Regions from separate parts of the Homo sapiens genome. Here regions 1 and 3 are each linked to region 2. Evidence: promoter capture Hi-C in human tissues and cell types (Jung and others, 2019). All regions are on one chromosome and are shown on one strand. Each heading gives the region's core, a stretch centred on a gene start or on the middle of the fragment in contact. The rest is flanking DNA. Distances are from core to core; before and after follow the strand shown.

Evidence for each region. The method cuts DNA at HindIII sites, captures the fragments that hold promoters and counts their contacts. A contact is called where the count stands out against the background at its distance.
Region 1: a fragment that was not itself captured here is called in contact with the fragment with the promoter of LRRC37B in region 2 in 3 of the 25 tissues and cell types used here (hippocampus, spleen and thymus).
Region 3: a contact is called between a fragment that was not itself captured here and the fragment with the promoter of LRRC37B in region 2, in 2 of the 25 tissues and cell types used here (bladder and dorsolateral prefrontal cortex).

Annotation. Positions count from the first base shown.
Region 1 is chr17:32,371,766-32,374,750 of GRCh38, forward strand. It overlaps ZNF207 (zinc finger protein 207), which reads left to right. Exons shown (of 12, transcript NM_001098507.2): 12 at 1-2,985. Among named protein-coding and RNA genes, the nearest start is that of ZNF207, 23 kb to the left of the region's middle. The HindIII fragment of the contact is 3,452 bases long and covers 1-2,985 here.
Region 2 is chr17:32,005,488-32,008,778 of GRCh38, forward strand. LRRC37B (leucine rich repeat containing 37B) reads left to right here and starts at 1,896. Exons shown (of 15, transcript NM_001321350.2): 1 at 1,896-2,645. It overlaps LOC124903972, which reads right to left and starts at 2,220. Exons shown (of 4, transcript XM_047437248.1): 1 at 1,889-2,220; 2 at 1,120-1,218. The coding sequence starts at 2,220. RefSeq lists an enhancer at 897-1,819 and silencers at 1,862-1,911, 1,952-2,301. The HindIII fragment of the contact is 11,687 bases long and covers 1-3,291 here.
Region 3 is chr17:32,337,014-32,339,923 of GRCh38, forward strand. It overlaps C17orf75 (chromosome 17 open reading frame 75), which reads right to left. Exons shown (of 10, transcript NM_022344.4): 3 at 2,800-2,910; 4 at 1,195-1,338; 5 at 884-941. Among named protein-coding and RNA genes, the nearest start is that of C17orf75, 3.7 kb to the right of the region's middle. The HindIII fragment of the contact is 3,781 bases long and covers 1-2,910 here.

The sequences.
Region 1 (2,985 bases), core at 328-2,827, 370 kb after region 2:
ATGATTTTGGCTCCTGTGCTTGTGGTACCATAGTGGTACAAAAATTTTCATAGTTTGAAAATAAAACAGGTATTTTGCCAGTAATGTATTTCTTTCTGCCAGCAGCCAAGTCCCAAACCACTTTCCCCTCTGAACCTCTGCTTACCTAAATGGTTTCAAAATTAATACATGCTGCTTTGATTTGGCAGCACACTTAATATACTGCTGAAGGAAAACTTGTGTTGAAAGTCTTTAAGATAAAAATGGTGTGATAGGCCGGGCGCAGTGGCTCACGCCTGTAATCCCAGCACTTTGGGAGGCCCAGGCGGGTGGATCATGAGGTCAGGAGATGGAGACCATCCTGGCTAACACGGTGAAACCCCGTTTCTACTAAAAATACAAAAAATTAGCTGGGCGTAGTTGCGGATGCCTGTAGTCCCAACTACTCTGGAGACCGAGGCAGGAGAATGGCGTGAACCCGGGAGGCATAGCTTGCAGTGAGCGGAGATCACACCACTGCACTCTAGCCTGGACGACAGATTGAGACTCCGTCTCAAAAAAAAAAAATGCTGTGATTAAATTTAGAATAATTAAGTAAGGGGTGCTCTCCCAAATTCTCAGGAATTTCATGTATACGGTTATTGACAAACTGCAATAGGGTTAGTAGACCTGTTTCAGAAATTATGTGAAGCTTTATTTGCATTTTATGCAAAGAAGGTTGATACTTTGTAGCAAGGTTTTTTGCTCTCTGTATAGGTCTGATGGGCAAAAATGGAACTTTTAAATATGGGATAGAATTCTAATTAAAAATTAATTGAAAGTGTTAGGCATTGGCAGATAAAACTTAAGCTCATGAGTTCCTGAGTTTGTAGCTATAGGCTCAGAGGTGGTGTACCCATTTAATATATTTGAAGTGTAATTTTTGCATGCATCCAAACGTAATTAAGCTTCTAGAAAATACCTTTTTTCTAAATGCTTCTGGGGTCCATAGTGTGGTTGAATTATGAGTGGAGCAAATTATATTCATATAATTAACTCTGACTCAACCTTCCTTAAGTAGTAGATGAAGTTGAGTCAAAGTGGATGCCAACTGCCCTCACAGAAGACAACTTTTGGGACTTGATAATTCAGGCAGGCATTGTGATTGTCATAATTAAGGAAGCTGTAAGGTTAGTAGGGCTGGCAACTTTGGCTCTACCTTACATCCACCCCTTTTAGAAAAACAAGAAAACATTTTGTCTGGCACTAGTTTCTGTTGTATAAGTTTTCATACTGTTTAACAAGACCACAGCAGGTAAGGATTAATTTTTGAGTGGCTGCTGGAATTACTTGATTTGAATACTTAGTATTTTAGTAGTGTCTCACACATTTGCCATTAGGTATGAATAAAATATTCCTACTGTACTCCTATTCCACTAAGTTACATTTTGAACTTAGACTCACCTTAATTAAACTTAATTAATTGGGGAGGGGGATTCCCCAACAAAAAGAAGTACGGGCTCAGAGTGGAATTGTAGTGGACAATAGTTAAAAACAAAGCTGCTCCTTTTGCTTGCTTGATCATTGGGATTTTTAAAAAAAAAAATTTTAATGCATGTCTTTTAAATTAATTGGGAACTGTTTTTCTAAAATTAAAATTTTCTTCTTCCTATAGCCCTGCCATAGGACAGGCTGAGGCTGAGTCTCAGTGTTGCCCTGTTCAGTCTGAGGCAAGTGGGATTTATTTTATTCCTTATAGGGGCTTTCACAGCTTTATGGCTGTTGGATATTTATGTCCCCAAACTTGCAGCAAGTTTGGTGAAGGCCCCTAAATTTAATTAAACTTAGGATTTTTATACTCTTTTGGCAGAGAAGGCTCTATATTAATATTCACGTTTGACTGTGGTGTTAATAAACATAAGTATTTCATATGCAATTTTATGTAATTTGCTGTGTGTTACATAATTAACAGCTTCAGTAAAGCTTGTGTTCCTATATTGAACTTCAATAAATTGACAAAATTTGATATTTTTGATTGGAGGCAAGAAATGTTTCATTCAAGTTTTTTACTTTCACTTCTAGGAAAATCTTACTGGTTTTATTTTCTCCATAAACTATTAAATTTAACCTCAAGGATAAGTTTAATCATTGGAAATGCCACTGGATACTGAAATGTGCCTTCTCTTTTTTGAGACGGAGTTTCACTCTTATCACCCAGGATGGAGTGCAGTGGTGCGATCTCGGTTCACTGCAACCTCTGCCTCCCGGATTCAAGTGATTCTCCTGCCTCAGCCTCCCGAGTAGCTGGGATTATAGGCTCCCGCCACCACATCTGGCTATTTTTTCAATATTTTTCAGTAGGGATGGGGTTTTGCCGTGTTGGCCAGGCTGGTCTCAAACTCCTGACCTCAGGTGATCCACCCATCTCAGCCTCCCAGAGTGCTGGAGTAGCAGGTGTGAGCCACCGCGCCTGGCCAAAATCTGCATTCTTTTTTTTTTTTTTTTTTTTTTTTTGAGACTGTCTCGCTGTGTCACCCAGGCCAGAGTGCAGTAGCACGATCTCAGCTCACTACAACCTCCACCTCCTGGATTCAAGCGATTCTCCTGTCTCAGCCTCCCGAGTAGCTGGGACTACAGGTGCTTGCCACCACACCCGGCTAATTTTTTGTATTTTTAGTAGAGACGGGGTTTCACCGTGTTAGCCAGGATGGTCTCGATCTCCTGACTTTGCGATCCCCCTGCCTCGGCCTCCCAAAGTGCTGGGATTACAGGCGTGGGCCACCGCGCTTGGCCAAAATCTGCATTCTTAATCACAAACTTACGCATTGAATGTTAAGGCTAAAAGGTCATCTGGAAATGCTTAATTTTAAAATATTTTCAAGCCTCACCACATTAGAGCAAATGTTAATGTAGAGCCCTGTAAAGGTGGGAAGGTGGTGTCTATGTGTGTGCTTGTGTATGTGGGGGTATAGACCATATAGTTGATATAACAACAGAATTTGGGTGTTACAGACCTTTCAGCATGGA
Region 2 (3,291 bases), core at 646-3,145:
ACACCTGGCCACCCTCTTCAAACAAAATATGAGCATTTCCATTGGCCTAGGTCTTCACCTTGTCTACTTTATTGACTTACATTACTTACCTAGTCCCTGAAGACATAACACACATTTGCCACCCTTAGAGCTCAACCAAACTGTATTGAATGCATGTATTTGGCAATTAGTGCTTGTATTTTAATTTTCATTTCACATATGTGTTCCATTTTCCTAACTAGATTGAAATAAGCCATCTCCTATTAGGTATTTTTCTTTCTTTTTTAAAAATTTTGAGACAGGGTCTTGCTCTGTCACTCAGGCTGGAGTGCAGAGGTGCAATCATGGCTCAGTGCAACATCCACCTCCCAGGCTCAAGCGATCCTGCCCCCTCACCCTCTGGCGTAGCTGGGACCACAGGTGCGCACCACCATGCCCGGCTAATTTTTCAATTTTTTTCTAGAGACGAGGTCCTGCTATGTTGCCCAGGCTAGTCTCAAACTCTTGACCTCAAGCAATCGTCCGGCTTTGGCTTCTCAAAGGGCTGGGATTGCAGGCATGAGCTATCGCGCCCGGCCAAGTATTTTTGTTTAAATTACTTTTTGGTTGTCACTTATCTCAATAAATATTAACATATGTTTACGAAACCTTTCTTTTTCTTTTTTTTTTTTTTTTTTTTTTTTTTTTTTTGAGACGGAGTCTCGCTCTGTCTCCCAGGCTGGAGTGCAGTGGCGCGATCTCGGTTCACTGCAACCTCCGCCTCCCGGATTTTACGCCATTCTCCTGCCTCAGCCTCCCGAGTAGCTGGGACTACAGGCGTGCACCACCTACGCCCGGCTAATTTTTTTTGTATTTTTAGTAGAGATGGGGTTTCACTGTGCTAGCCAGGATGGTCTCGAACTCCTGACCTTGTGATCCGCCCGCCTCGGCCTCCCAAAGTGCTGGGATTACAGGCGTCAGCCACTGTGCCCGGCAAACCTTTCTCTTATCTGAAGAACTGACCTCAACCACTCAGGGTTGAGTCCCTGTGATAAGGTTTGAGGGTGCCTGAACTGTCACCATGATTCGTCCCCTGGGCTGAGCTCAAACCTAGTGATTTGTCAGGTAAATAAATTAAGGTTATTTCCCGATAATACAGACCTGTAACACCGTGAAGTAGGTTTTAGGCAGGATTCCCTCTTTTCCACTGCAAAGGAGAGGTAAGTTCTTGCTAAGGTGGTCAGGCTCCTAGCTGGGACACTGGGAAGGTGGCGGGAGATTGGAACATGCAGTAGTTGCATTCTGGAGTTTACTGAGGCTTTCCGAGTGGGGATCCCATGCAACAGGTCTTAGGGACCCCCCTCCCTCCAGGCGTGGCAGCCCGGGGTGTGGCTCCTGGCACAGATCCGGAGCAGTTGTCATCGGAGTCAATTCAGGACTCCACTTCCAAGCTTCGGAGTTTCCTAAATTCTGGGGGCTTGTCTCCCTGTACCCCACCCCGACTAATTTTCCTCGGTCGCTGGCGCTGCCCCGTCCCTTAGGTCGCTCGGGCCGCCCCCCTCCGCGACTTTTTTTTTCTTTCTCTCGCTGCCTCTTTCAGCCTCAGTTTCCCTAGAGGGCGGGAGGGGAACGATATTTGGGGGCTCTCCTGCCTTCCTCTCCGAGCCGCGGAAGGGGAGTCGCGGGAAGGAGACCCGGCAGGCTTTGGGCTCCAGCCAGGGGTCCGCGGAGACTGTGGTCTCCGAAGGCCTTAGACGCGGGGCTTGTCAGGAGCTGCGGGCCTCTTTCAGCCGCGCCACCCGCACCCGGAGCGCCGTGCTGCGCCAAGTCCAGGCGCCCCGAGCTCTCCGCCCCCGACTCAATGCTCCCGCGCTCCCCCTAGCGGCCGCCGCGCCACCTCGCCCCCTTCCCAGGCTGGGCGGCGGCGCACCTCACGTGACCGCGCTCCTGTAGAGGGAAGAAACAAGGTGGCGGTTGAAGGCGATCTTGAGTGGGGCCCCAGCAATTCGGTTGAGCCTTCTCCCTCCACTCGCTTCCGCCGGCCGGGCCCCTCCCGCCCAGCCCCTCGGGCCTCCCAACCCGGCCCCGGCGCTCCCCACCGCCGCCACTGCGCCCGGCCCTCCCCGTCAGCTTTCCCTTCTCCCGCCGCCTGGGCTCCAACAAGAGGGGCCGGCGGGGCAGGCCGACCAAGCAGCCCGCGGCTCCCGCTGCGGAGCGCTGCGCCCCGGCCCCGCCGCCGCCGCCGCCCACGTCCGGACCCATCGGGGGCTCCCCTCGCCGATACGCGGTAGTAGCCGGGGCAGGTGGGCAGCCGCCAGGCTGAGGTGGCGCCCAAGACGCGGCTGAGCTCGCCCAGGGTGGGCAGCAGTAGCCGGAGGAAGCCACCGCCGCCGGCCCGCCCCGCGCCGGCACCAGCGCACGGGCCCGGCGGGGGCGCGGGGGCAGCCACCTAGCCCGGACCACCGCAGCCCGGAGGGCTGTCAACAGAGTGGTGTATGATGACTACGAGAGCGAGGAGGAGGAGTAAGAGGAGGGGGGCGGCGATGCCGAGGAGACCCAGGAGTCTGAGGACAACTAGGAGGATGACATGGAGGAGGACGACGATGACTCCGATTATCCGGAGGAGCTGGAAGATGACGACGAGGACGCCAGTTACTCCACGGAAAGCAGCTTCAGCAGCACTCCAGGTACCCACCCAGCGCAGTTGCTGCAGACTCATTCCCCACCTCCTCTCCCCTCCCCCCTTGCTCACTTATGTGCTGTGCATCCCGCTCCGATCTCCCGCCAACCCCGCCGACCCCTAAACTTTAGAGGGGAAATGGGAGGGCACATCAAGTGGCAAAAAACTAGATTTATAAGAGGAAAGAAGCACATTGTTCAAAATGGAGATTGCATTGTTGCAGGCCGCACTCGCTTGCTCCCCGTCCCCCCAACTCCCTTTTTTTCTCCTCAAAATTTGTGCCAGTGCAGTGTCTCCACCGGGCAGGATTGAAACTTTGGCAAACACATATCCATTGCATTCATTTTTCTCCCCTTGTTTTGGTGTGGTTTTCTGGAATGAAAGAAGCCTCTTGTTTTGCAAACCTCTTTGCATTTCTAATGTGTTTCCTTTCGGATTTTCATTATATATCTGTTCCTTAAAAGGGAATTAAGGATTTGTACAGATTGTGGCACACAGACACACAGAAAAACATGCCTGTGTTCACACCCCTAGCTGTGGTTTTTAAATTGTGTTAAGGAAACGGATCATTTTGGTTAGTAGGGGAACTTTACCTGGTCCTGTGTGTTTGTTTTTATTCTTCGAGTGCTGACGGGCTAGTGCAACAGTTGCTG
Region 3 (2,910 bases), core at 360-2,859, 330 kb after region 2:
GGTGGTGCATGCCTGTGGTACCAGCTACTTGGGAGGCTGAGGTGGGAGGATCGCTGGAGCCCAGAAAAGGCTGCAGTAAGCCATGATCGTGCCACTGCACTCCAGCCTGGGTGATAGAGTGAGACCCTATCTCAAAAAATGAAAAAGAAAAAGAAACCACCTGTAGGCTGGGCACAATGGCTCGTGTCTGTAATCTCAGCACTTTGGGTGGCTGAGGAGGGAGGATTGCTTGAGGCCAGGAATCCTAGACCAGCCTGGGCAACAAAGTGAGATCCCCATCTCGACAAAAAATACCAAAAGTTAGCCAGGCGTGTTGGTATTTGCCTGTAGTCCCAGCTGTTTAGGAGGCTGAGGCGAGAAGACTGCTTGAGCCCCAAGAAGCTGAGGCTGCAGTGAGCCTGATCGCGCCACTGCCCTGCAGCCTGGGCAACAAAGCAAGACCCTGTCTAAAAAAAAAAAAAATTCACCTCTCTACTAGCTCACAAGGTGGCAAGTTTCTAGAATACAGGCGTCTTTGTGTCTACCTATATGATTTGACAAGTAGAGCAATCACAGTATATTAATCATTTCAGTCATTATTTTATTTTTTTAACTCTGTCGCTCAGGCTGGAGTGCAGTGGTGCAATCTCGGCTCACTGAAACCTCTGCCTCCCGGGTTCAAGCGATTCTCCTGCCTCAGCCTCCCAAGTAGCTGGGACTACAGGTGCCTGCCACCATGCCTGGCTAAGTTTTAGTAGAGATGAAGTTTCATCATATTGACCAGGCTGGTCTCTGACCTTGTGATCTGCCCACCTCGGCCTCCCAAAGTGCTGGGATTACAGGCGTGAGCCACTGAGCCTGGCCCCATTTCAGTCTTTAAAAACCATTAAGTCAGTCACCTTACCTCACAATTCATGTTATTTTTCAGCCCTTGAATGTACTTGTCCAATTCAAGCCTGAAAGTATGTTCTTAAGGAAGCAATAAAGGATGAATAATGAAGACAGTATTTCATCTCTCAACAAGAAATATAAAATCTCTCAAATAATGTGAGCTGCAAATGCAAACAAGCCAAGGCAAAATGGCCACATGAAGGTATGAAATTCAACTAAATACACGAGGAGTAGAAAAGCTTTTTGGAGGTTGGTAGTAATATTCTTCCACCTGCCTTCCCATGTTTTCCTTCCTGATGTTCTCAAAAACCAAAGAAAGGATATAGCTCAAGTCCTTTTTCAGACCCTCCTAAAAAACAGACCACATATTCTGAAGGGTTACGTTCAGAGTCTATCGTTACTGTTTCAGGAAGCAGTTTTTCATTTTGGAAAAGGCAGTAATAACAACCAACTCGGTAACCTGGAATTCTAGAAAAGAAAGAAAATGTAAAATGCATTATTTTGGTTACTCATGCATCTATAATTTTGTGGACTGCTCTGAATTCTGGTCATCTTGATCTGGCAACACCATTAAACTGCCCACTAACTCAGAGCTTCCCAGACTTCTCGTTGGTGTACTTGCAGCAGCAAAGAAAAATGAATGTATACCCTGGAGGGCTTTAGTTAAAGCAGCCACTAACATACATGAAATTTCTTTGAATTCTCCTGTCTTATGTGAAAAATTCACACAAATTTCACTCTAGTTCATACCCATGTTTATATTAAAAAAAAGTATGTTCTCCCCTCTCCCAAAGCTTCACAAATTGATGTTTAAGGCAGATGTGCCTGAAGGTGGCCTTATCCTTGGGAAGTGGCCTCAAACTCCTGAGGACCTGTATGCTAACTTCACGGTCTGAGTTGAACTAGAATAAAGAGGTGTAATGGAGGCCGGGCACAGTGGCTCACACCTGTAATCCCAGCACTTTGGGAGGCCAAGGCGGGTGAATCACCTGAGGTCAGGAGTTCGAGACCAGCCTGGCCAACATGGTGAAACCCCATCTCTACTAAAAATACAAAAATTAGCCGGGTATGGTGGTGCATGCCTGTAATCCCAGCTATTCGGGAGGCTGAGGCAGGAGAATTGCTTGAACCAGGGAGGCGGAGGTTGCAGTAAGCCAAGATCATGCTACTGTACTCCAGTCTGGGCAACAGAGTGAGACTCTGTCTTAAAAAAAACAAAACAAAACAAAAAAGGAGAGGTGTAATGGAAAGACAGTTGGAATTGGACTAAGAATGCTCATGTTTAAGCCTGAACTCCATCAATTTGACCAGCCTCATGACTTAAGTTTACATAAACTCTGAGTTTATTTCCTCATCTGAAAATGAAAATAAGAGAGTATCTGCTATATTTCCCCTTTGTAAGGAAAACTACATAAAAGTTTGTGAAAATACAAACTGTATACAAATTTAGTTTTAATAATCAACACTTTTCTTCTTCTAAGTACAAAACTTATTAGCCTGGGCAACATGGTAGGACCCCATTTCTAAAAAAAAAAAAAAAAAAAAATTAAAAAAATTGCTGGGCATCGTAGTGCCTGCCTGCAGTCCCAGCTACTTGGGAGGCTGAGGTGAGAGGATTGATTAAGCCCAGGAGGTCAAGGCTGCAGTGAGCTGTAATCGGGCCGCTGCACTCCAGCCTGGGCAACAAAGCAAGACCCTGTCTCAAAAAAAAATAAACTAATTAAATAAAGTGCAATTGGGTGCCAGGGTCTCTGCCATTCAATTAATTCCATTCCACAAATGTTTATGTGTGAGGCCCAGTGCTCGGGCTGCCAGAGAATAAAGACAAATTCTGCAGGTCTAGTAGGAGCTGATCTTTTGGAGTTTCTCATCACTTCTCATATTTAGTTCAGAAATAAAAACTCAGGACACAGCACATTTTGCACTTACTTTAGCTCCACAGATGCAACATTACCCAGCCCTTCAAAGACTGCACCTCTTGAAAGACGCTTAGCAATGAAACTGCGCAGCTCTGGCTCCACTTCGGATGGTAGATTAGTA